Regions from separate parts of the Homo sapiens genome. Here regions 1 and 3 are each linked to region 2. The links are contacts of gene promoters, found by promoter capture Hi-C in human tissues and cell types (Jung and others, 2019). All regions are on one chromosome and are shown on one strand. Each heading gives the region's core, a stretch centred on a gene start or on the middle of the fragment in contact. The rest is flanking DNA. Distances are from core to core; before and after follow the strand shown.

The links. Contacts are between HindIII fragments. The study calls those that stand out against the background at their distance.
Region 1: a fragment that was not itself captured here is called in contact with the fragment with the promoter of RNF186 in region 2 in 1 of the 25 tissues and cell types used here (psoas muscle).
Region 3: a contact is called between a fragment that was not itself captured here and the fragment with the promoter of RNF186 in region 2, in 1 of the 25 tissues and cell types used here (aorta).

Annotation. Positions count from the first base shown.
Region 1 is chr1:21,048,788-21,052,183 of GRCh38, reverse strand. EIF4G3 (eukaryotic translation initiation factor 4 gamma 3) reads left to right here. Exons shown (of 37, transcript NM_001391906.1): 4 at 1,190-1,318. Among named protein-coding and RNA genes, the nearest start is that of MIR1256, 62 kb to the right of the region's middle. The HindIII fragment of the contact is 4,079 bases long and covers 1-3,396 here.
Region 2 is chr1:19,814,033-19,817,664 of GRCh38, reverse strand. RNF186 (ring finger protein 186) reads left to right here and starts at 2,382. Exons shown (of 1, transcript NM_019062.2): 1 at 2,382-3,632. The coding sequence starts at 2,564. The coding sequence ends at 3,247. RNF186-AS1 (RNF186 antisense RNA 1) reads right to left here and starts at 3,256. Exons shown (of 2, transcript NR_186008.1): 1 at 3,112-3,256. RefSeq lists an enhancer at 390-921. The HindIII fragment of the contact is 3,016 bases long and covers 164-3,179 here.
Region 3 is chr1:21,708,997-21,712,355 of GRCh38, reverse strand. All of the region lies in intron 15 of USP48 (ubiquitin specific peptidase 48), which reads left to right. Among named protein-coding and RNA genes, the nearest start is that of RAP1GAP, 41 kb to the right of the region's middle. The HindIII fragment of the contact is 4,321 bases long and covers 1-3,359 here.

The DNA of each region.
Region 1 (3,396 bases), core at 433-2,932, 1.2 Mb before region 2:
TTTATTGCCTGCAAAAAACGGAGAAAATGAAATTTTTGGTTACGTAAAAACATGCTGATTATTTTTCAGTTGTATAAATTTGTGATTATTGTATTATATTAGAAAATATAAATGAGAAAATAAATACCTGTAATGCTTTCTGTTAAGATTTTGGTATATCTCTTTACAGATCTTTAAAAATATTACATATACATGTTTTTAGATGTATGTGTGTGTATTATATGCATACGTAAACAAATAATGTATATAGAAATATTCCTACACATGTGTATGTATATGTATATTTAGATGTCCTTTTTAAAAATTTTTTTGTATTTAAAGAGATAGGGTTTTCCTCTGTCACTCAGGTTGTAGTACAGTGGTGTGATCATAGCTCACTGTAAGCCTTGAACTCCTGGGCCCAAGCAGTCCTTTTGCCTCAGCTTCCCAAGTAACTATTTCTACAGGTGGATGCCACCATGCCTAGCTAATGAAAAAAAAATTTTTTTTTATAAAATACAGTTGAAGTCTTGCTATGTTGCACAGGCTGGTCTGAAACTTCTGTTCTTAAGCAGTCTTCCTGTGTTGGCCTCCCAAAGTGCTGGGATTACAGGCATAAGCCACAGCATCTGGCCAGATATATGTTTTTAAAGACAAAAATGAGATTATGTCGTATAAGTAACTTGCCATTTTTGGAGTTTAGATTTATTGAGATGTAATTTAGTAAAATTCACCCTTTTTAGTGTATACGTCCATAAGTCTTGACAAGCAGAGACATTCAATTCTCACTATAAGCATGATACAGAACAGTTCTGTCACCCTCAAAAATCTCCTTGTTCCTCTTCTGTAGTCATCTCCTTCCTCTTTCAACCATTTATTTCTTTTCTGTTCCTTTTACAAAATGGTATCATACAGTTTGTAGTTTGAAGTATTGTTTCTTTCCTGTAGCATGTGTTTTCCTTTATGATTTTTGGTTTTGAGATCATGCTTCAAGAATCTTTTATCAAATTGATGAGAATATTCATGTATATATTTTTAAAGAATTCTGTTTTTTTCAATTTTAAAAATTTTAAGTGTTTGTTCAGTCTCGTGCTTATTTTAGTGTAAGTTGTGAGGTAGGAAATCCAATTAAAAATCAGATAGTTCAGCTGTATTTATTAAGATTGATTTACTAATATAATGTTCTTACTAAATATTGATTTCCTCACAGGTAACACAAGTGGCAAGACAGCCGGGAACCCCTACCCCATCCCCTTATTCAGCACATGAAATAAACAAGGGGCATCCAAATCTTGCGGCAACGCCCCCGGGACATGCATCGTCCCCTGGACTCTCTCAAGTAAGATAAACCTTTTTTAAAAAAATAAGAAATGTCCCTGTAAAGGCATCATTTTTGTTTTTCTAAAGAGACTCCTAAGCAGTAACATAAAACATTACTTGTATAGTAATTTCAAGTTTGTCTTTGGCATCTTTTCAGACTTAACCGTTCATAAAGATGGCTACTAACAAATTTCACACATTTCATTTTGAAGTCATTAAAAATTAACTGTTGGTGATATTTAGTTTTCATTTTCATTGTTTAAGAAGTTAGAGTTTTATTCTAAAGTTTACTGGAAAACCCCCCCACAAAGCACTGATTTGCTTTTCGATGCTTAATCTGCTACCGTCTCGCACCCCTTTCGGGTGAAGCATTAATGGTTATTTTCTACTTATGTGAAAACTTGGTGTCTTCCCCTCTTGAGTAGCATCAGTGGGATTTTTTGTTTGTTGGTTTGGTTGTTTTGTAAGTCGATTATTGTAATTTGATAGGCTTAAGTTTTTGTTGAACTGTTAGAAGAATTGTGAACTCCTTAGTGTATTTCTACTTAATAGTAACAACAGACGTTCAGACACTGTTTAAGGAGGATGTTCCTATGTGTTCCTTGCACTTAAGCTGTTTGCCAAGATATATTGTTTAGCTTGCACCGACCTACTGTTGCAAGCTTGTTTGGATTTCCTTGTGGTTAAAAGTTGGCTAGAGTTATAAAGTCCCTTACAGAATGTGGACTGAGTCAAGCCAATAACGTTGATCTAACTGTGTGAGATTATCAGTATTTACATGTAACAGCTACTCTTTTGATAATGAAAATCATTTTTATAACATTATTTGTGATTTTAGCCTCCATATTTTAGGCCTTTTAGAGATTGAATAATAGGAGAGATCAGGAATTACTAAAAATAATGCTAAAGGTGGTGATTATAAGTTAAGGGCTGATTTTATTTTTTATTCTTCATTATTTTTTAGGGACAATTTTTATTCCTTATTATTTTTTTAAAGACAGGGTCTTGCTCCGTGGCCAAGGCTGGGGTACAGTGGCATGATCATAGCTCACTGTAACCTCTAACTCCTGGGCTCAAGTGATCTTCTTGCCTCAGCTTCCCAGTTAGCTGAGACCACAGGCTCATGCCACCATGCCCGGCTAATTTTTTTCTTTTGGTTAAATTTTTTGTAGAGATGGGGTCTTGCTATGTTGCTCAGATTGGCCTTGATCTCCTGGCCATGTGCTGATTAATTATATTTTAGACTATAGAATGTTTGGAAAAGGAATGTACAGTTTGCCAAACCATGACTGAAATAGCCCTATTAATGAATATAAGTTTGTCAAGAACTTAGTGCTATACCTAAACTTAGTCTAAATCATTCCTATATAATTTGGAGTTTTAAACATTGAAAACAAAACAAAATGAGCTCCTGATTGTTTAAATGAGGTTCCTGTGTTGGGTTTCTTAGACTGAACACAACCTCTCAACTTACTATTAAGGTGTATTAATCTGAGTCTAATCAGGAGAGAAAAACTATGCACTCTCAAGAATATAAGATATAAAGAGCAAACGCTTACCTTAGGGCTGAGTAGAGGCTCAGATAGGGAGCCTTTCTCTGTAGGGTTGAGCCAAAGGCTGTGGTAGAAGAGCCACTGTGGTGCTGTTCAGAACTTGCTGAAACTCTTTGTTCTGGAACTTGCTGGAAATGTGCCCTATGAAGTATTGGGGAAAGCTTTCTTCTCCAGCACCAATCTCTTATAGCCAAGAGCTGATGCAGGGCACAATGGCTAAAAGGCTCCTTACTGCATATCTGTTTCCCACAGACAATTCAAAACATTAGATCCACTGGATCAGAAGTCCCAAGTGGTAGAGCAGCTTGCACTGCCCATCCCAAATTTGCTGTATAACCTTCGTATATTGTGTTCCCTACTCAAAATTGGAAACTTCCTAGGTGACTCTGTAGTCGGTTAAGGTGGCACATTCAGATGTAGTATATATGTTGCCTCTACATCCAAAAAAGGCCTACCAAACCTACGTCTTATTTTTTGTGGTAGTTTTAGGTGAGAGACTGCTACCCCTACCCTGGGCTAAGATCTTGACCTTGTTGGAGAGGGC
Region 2 (3,632 bases), core at 1,133-3,632:
CTTCAGGTGTTCAAATAACATCATCAGGCCTTTGTCTGATTCTTTTCTCATTTTTCTTTTGTGCTGACCTTACTCTTGAGCAGGTTCTCTGCACACTGTGGTCCTGGCAGCCCCAGGGTTCCATCCTCTAACTTAGAAACCCAGCACAAAGAGAAACTTCTCAAGGGCTCCAACAGAAGTCTCAGAATTGAATCTCATTGGCTTGGCTTCGATTATATGCCTACGCTCAAACCAATGGCTGCAGCTAGCAGAGCAGAGCATGCTAACTGGCCTGTCCTGAATTGTATCAGGGCCCCACTTCCAGAGAGCTGGAGCCAGACATCACCCTCTCCGTGAGCACAGAATGACGGTGGGAAGCAGTGGTTGCCCAAAGTGAAAACAGAGAACTGTTACCCAAAAAAGGGGAAAGAATGCTAGGCATGGGGGAAAAAACATGCCTAGATCCAAGGCCACCTTCAGCTTGATCTGGGGGAAAACGTGATATAGATGTGTATCTATACCTTAGTATCTGAGACAGGTCTCAGTTAATTTAGAAAGTTTATTTTGCCAAGGTTGAGGACACATGTCCGTGACACAGCCTCAGGAGGTCCTGATGACATGTGCCCAAGGTGGACAGAGCACAGCTTGGTTTTATACGTTTTAGAGGGACATGAGACATCAATCAACATATGTAAAATGAACATTGGTTCCATCTGAAAAGGTGGAGCAACTTGAAGCAAAGGCAGGAAGACCTGAAGTGGGGAAGGGGCTTCCAGGTCACAGGTGGATAAGAATGGTTACATTCTTTTGAGTTTCTGATTAGCATCTCCAAAGGAGGCAATCAGATATGCATTTGTCTCAGTGAGCAGAGAGGTGACTTTGAATAGAATGGGAGGCAGGCTGGCCCTAAGCAGTTTCCAGCTTGACTTTCCCTTGTGGCTTAGTGATTTTGGGGCCCCACGATTTATTTTCCTTTCACAGAGGTAACTGATGGTCTAGCTACAGGTTGAGAAGAAATGGGATGGGATGGTGAGAGTATTGGATTTCAGAGATAGAGGGCCCAGGGGGAGTGGGGAGGTGGGAGTTACCGATCCCACAAGGGAGGGAGCCCCTTTGGGGCTGGTGACTCCAGGACACAGAGGGTGGCCTGCAGTGCCAGCTACTGGGGTAAGGGAAAGAGCTGAATCAGAGGCACAGGACTCTGTGTGGCCCTTGGCAGGTGACATGAGCACCAAAGGATCCTTCACACGGGCTTCTGAGTTCAGAGTGGCCTGAATGAAACATTTGTTTGAGGGAGTGCACATGCCACCCCGCCATTTGCCCTTGAGGGCAAAGTAAGGAAATCACGTTTTCCTAACTGCTGTGTTACTAATATCTGCCTGTCTCACATGAGTCCTCTTAGCCTACGCCACCCGGCTGGGGCCAGTTGTGTCCAAATGAACCAATGAAATTGATTCAACCAGACCTTGGACGCTGGTAGATTCCACAAGGTCCTGCTCCATGGAAGGCCCCTTGGCAGGCAGCCAGCAGCCTACCCTGACCACACCCTGCCCTTGTTTCCCAGCCTTCCCTACAAGGCTGTATCAGGGTTCCGGGAAATGGGGGCTGGGGACCCCGGGCACAGGGCTTGGCTTAGAGTAGGCCCAAATAAATGGCAGCTGTTCTTAGTACTACTGGATACGCAGCATGCCTAGCACAAAACAGGACACCTGTGATTAGGCATGTGAAGTGTGCAGCAGGGCACCGATGGGAAGTTCATACACCCGTAACTGTGAATACAACAGCTGTGGCTCTAAGGAAATGAATACAGTAGCAGGTGCCAAACACCTGTGCGCTGTATGTGGTTTTGTTTTTCTGCGTTGGGTTGGGCTTTGTCCTCCTTCCACTCACTTTTCTTACCTCTCCCCTCCTCTTTCCAAGGCCACCTGCCTGTAAATGTGCTCCAAGTGCAAACAAACTTTTTTCCACTCATCCTGACATCCAAAAGTTTGTGTCTGAGAAAGCAGTGTCCACCAATCCACCTATGTCCGACTCATAGGGCTGTCTGTTTATTGTGCAGATTTGTAGATGCCAGTGAGCCAAGATCGGGCCACTGCACTCCAACCTGAGAGAACGAGACTCCGTCTCAAAAAAAAAAAAAAAAGTTAAATAAAAAAAATTAATAAAAGGTTCAGGGACCTGGGAAGTGGGGGTGAGAGAGTTGGATTCTGCTGCCTCCTAAAGCTTGAGCCACAGTTCTGTGGGCACCCACCAGGTACCTGGCCCCAACAGGAAAGTCCTGATTCACTAGACCCTTGCCCACTTTGCCCTCCTATCAGGCAATTCAAAGTCTCCAGACCCGCAAGTTACTGATTAACCCTAGGTTTTGAGAAAATAAATAATAATAACTGAAGGGACGACGTAAGCCAAGAAACAAGCTGGGCAGCTCTGGGAGAGAGGAGTGTCAGACAGCTGTTGTCAACAGGCACCTGGCCAGAGTGAAAAGGAGGGGCAGATTCCATCCAAGTCCCAGCGGCGCCAGCTGACACTCTCTGCCAATGCCCAGGTGCTGAGCGACAGTGTCCCACCGGTCCCTGTGCCCAGAATGGCCTGCACCAAGACCCTGCAACAGTCCCAGCCCATCTCCGCAGGAGCCACCACAACCACCACCGCTGTGGCCCCTGCTGGGGGTCATTCTGGCTCCACAGAATGTGACCTGGAGTGTCTGGTGTGCCGGGAGCCCTACAGCTGTCCCCGGTTGCCCAAGCTGCTGGCCTGCCAGCATGCCTTCTGCGCCATCTGCCTGAAGCTCCTGCTGTGCGTGCAGGACAACACCTGGTCCATCACCTGCCCGCTGTGCCGCAAGGTCACCGCCGTCCCCGGGGGCCTCATCTGCAGCCTGCGCGACCATGAGGCGGTGGTGGGGCAGCTGGCCCAGCCATGCACAGAGGTATCGCTCTGTCCTCAGGGGCTGGTGGATCCTGCTGACTTGGCAGCAGGACACCCCAGCTTGGTGGGAGAGGATGGACAGGATGAAGTAAGTGCAAACCACGTGGCAGCCCGGCGCCTGGCCGCGCACCTACTCCTGCTGGCCTTGCTCATTATCCTCATCGGGCCCTTCATCTACCCGGGTGTCTTACGATGGGTGCTCACCTTCATCATCGCCCTGGCCCTGCTGATGTCCACCCTCTTCTGCTGTCTCCCCAGCACCCGGGGCAGCTGCTGGCCCTCCTCCAGGACTCTCTTCTGCAGAGAGCAGAAACACAGCCACATCTCTTCCATTGCCTGAGTGCCCTCTGATGAGGCTATCCCTGCAGCCCTTTCTGCCCTTGGGCCCCCGGACTTCCACAATGAACAGGGTAAGGGGTTACGGACTAAGACTGGCTCCTTTGGGAAATCACATGCCAGCGGGACTTGCAAGCCACAACCGAGATGGCCAGCCTGGGTCAAGAATTACACGCTTGGATGACAGGCTTGCACTTGCCCTTGGGATAGCATAGCTAAAACTGTTGGTGGCTAGGGGAGCAGACACAAACTACTTGAACATGACAAGATGGGGGAAGCTCCTGTTCCTCTTATTCCAATGTTCTTGGTTTTTCTTTATATAACTTGATGAAAGTATTGCAGTATTGATGCCATTGTAGAATAGAACTGGAATTCCATTCTTTTTGCAA
Region 3 (3,359 bases), core at 688-3,187, 1.9 Mb before region 2:
ATGGCGTCTCACTGTGTCGCCCAGGCTGGAGCGCAATGGTGCAGTCTCGGCTCACTACAACCTCCACCTTCTGGGTTTAAGTGATTCTCCTGCCTCAGCTTCCCAAGTATCTGGAACTATAGGCATGTGCCACCACTCCCAGTTAATTTTTGTATTTTTAGTAGATATGGGGTTTTGCCATGTTGGCCAGACTGGTCTCGAACTCCTGACCTCAGTTGATCTGCCTGTCTTGGCCTCCCAAAGTGCTGGGATTACAGGCGTCAGCCATCATGCCCATCCAACTCATTTAATCTTATAACAACTCTGTGCTATCAGTATATTATCACATCCATTCTACTGATGAGTAAGTAAACTGAGGCACAGAGAGGCAAGAGTCACCTGTCTAGGATCACCATACTGAATGGATAATTTTGCCTAGGTATTTAGTTGTCTGTTGGAAATATTTTTTCCGTGAAAATTTAAGAGACTTTTGTGGTAGTGCTCTGGACGTACCATTCAGAAGTCCAAAGCCATTGTTTCTTGGTAATTTTTCTCCACTTCAGTTTCTGGTAGGCTTGTAAGATCTTTGTCCCCAATGTTGTACGGGTTCATTTATTATGCTAGGCACTCTGTGGAAGCCAGGTGTGTTTTGGAGGGGCTTGGTGACTGAGCTTCACTAGTTCGGAGCCCCAGCTGGCTTGTTTCACTGGGAAATTCCCAATGGCACTGTCTGCTATTGGGCCACTAAGGTTTTTCCGTAAGTATCTTTTATTTGCCTGCCTGGAAAATTCAGACCTGCTGTCGCTCTTCGGAAGCTGTAGAAAGAAGAGGACTTAGGAGTCCCTGCATTGAAGAGTGGAAAGGTTTAATTATCCCTGTCTCAGCTTGTCACTTCATTTGTCTCTGTGTTTTGTGTCCCCTGTTCAGGGGCCTTAGGTTTTGTTGTCCTAGAATAAGCATCTAGTCTTTTGTGGCTAGAGGGGGCAGTGATCTCAAGGGCAGAGAAGGGGACTGAGCATCTAACTACATACTTCTTAAATAGACTTTCCATCCCTTCTCTCATTTTTTGTAAATCCCTACCTTTACTTCATGAGGACCCAGTTTTTGGGTCTGTGGGACAGTACTGCAGTGTAGCAAATCTGGCTACTTCTTGACTTTCGCCAACTTAGAGTTAATTTTTATTGTGTCTCATTAACCTTCTTTTAAACCCTTATAATTTTTATCCCTGTTGTTGCCTCTGTTGTCTTCATCATTATAACTGTATGTCTTTTATATATATATATAAATAATTCCTTTGGTGTGGTGGTTCACATCTATAACCTCAGCACTTCAAGAGGCTGAGGCATTTGAGAGCAGCCTGGGCAACATAGTGAGACCCCACCTCTATTTAAAAAATAAAATAAAAATTAGGCAAAGTGGCACACGGCTGTAGTCCTAGATGCCCAGGAAACTGAGGCAGGAGCATTGCTTGAGCCCAGGAGATTGTGGTTACAGTGAGCTATGATCACGCCACTGCACTCCAGCCTGGGTGACAGAGTGAGATCCTGTCTCTAAAAATAAAAGTTTTTTTTTTTTTAATTCTTTATTGTGATTTGATGATGTTTCATGAGGCACTTAAAGTAAATGCAGTTTTAAACATCATTTTAACCTGGAAAGTCCTTGATTTAAATTTTCATATTTTTATAACAAAACCCCTATATATTTCTAACGTGTTGTATGTATTTAATGTATCACAGGTTTTGTGTGAATTAGTCATTGGATTATATTCCATTGGAAGATTTACTATCCTAGAGTTCAGTATTTGTTGCAGATATTATATAACAAGCTTTATAATACAGATATTATATATATCAAGCTTTCTTACCCATTTTACTTTTTATTCCTTTAAGTGAATAACCTTCCTATAGCTTACCTTGTTTATTACACCTAGTTTGCTTAGACGATGGGCTGTGTTTTGTTTTGTTATTTTGAAAGTACTTCTTGAGATGTCCTGAGGCCCAAAGTATTATATACAGTTTGAACTAGATTGAGGGTGAGGGGTTGAGGGTCATTTATCCAGTATCTAAATTCATTGTTAACTAGATTTCTCTTTTTACCAAAGAATCTTTGAGTTTTAGATATTCTAGTTATGTTTACTGAATTGAATCTCTCTTGACTGCTTTGATCTTGTTTTGGGAGGTATTGCTCATAGAATGGATTTAGTTGATTGGCTTTCTCTTAAAATTTAAGAAATAACATGTTTCATTGCAGGATACAAGTTTAATTTCTAACAATTTATGTGTCCCAGTGAAAAGAGCAACCCAAATTTATTTAACTATTTTGAGGTCATAGACAATATTCAAGTATATTTACTTCATTATCATTCATTACATTAATTTAATTAATTGTATTAATATTCATAGTTAATATTAATGATATATTAACAACTACTATGGTAGTAATTATTAGAATAATAGGAAATTATATTTAGAAACTCAGCTAACAAGTAGAGTGAAGGACTATATATTTTTATTACCAACTAGACTACAGTAAAATGACTATTTAATATTATTCTGATCTCAGAAATGAATTTGGGTTGTTCTTTCCTTGTCATATGAAAAACACTCATCCCACTTAAAAGCCAGTCACTACCTAAAAGTACCCCCACATCAGAATGAAGCCGTGCACCCACAGTGTCTGTGGTCTCCTCTGCTCATTTAATAGTAAAGTTTGTGTGTGCATTCCCATTATTGTTTCCTCATAACCACATGGGGTTATACCACACACAAAGAAGCTCTCTTTTTTTTTTTTTAAAGCATAAAAAGGAAACCATTTAAATATTGTAGTTGCCGTGGAGTTCTTTCCAAATCAGGTCATGGAAATCTACCTTAATCTTTTTTATGGTTACGTTGTATTTCACATAAGGACTTACTAAGTTAAGGTTTGATAATCCAATTAACCTTTTTCTTTCATTTTTAAAAATAAATTCCCTAATTGTGTCTGAGGATGGGCACGTTAGAATAAGTTTTCATAGACTCACGGGAAATTTAAATTAACAGCCCACCCAGAAGGAAATACATGTTTACATTCTGACCCCATTTCTCTGGTAACAAGTCTGTTAAAGCAAAATAATCTTTTGGGGATTATTCAAAGATCCAGAAGAGGTGAGGGGTAGAAGTTAAGTTGCATTCTGAGGTATTATAAATTATAGGGACCAGGCATAGTGGCTCATGCTTATAATCCCAGCATTTCTGGAGGCTGAGGTAGGACGGTTGCTTAAAACCAGAAGTTCGAGAGACTCCCTCTCTACAAAATAAAATATTAGGCGGGCATGGTGGCTCATGCCTGTTAGCCAGACTACTCAGGAGGCTAAGGCAGGAGGATCGCTTGAGCCCAGGAGG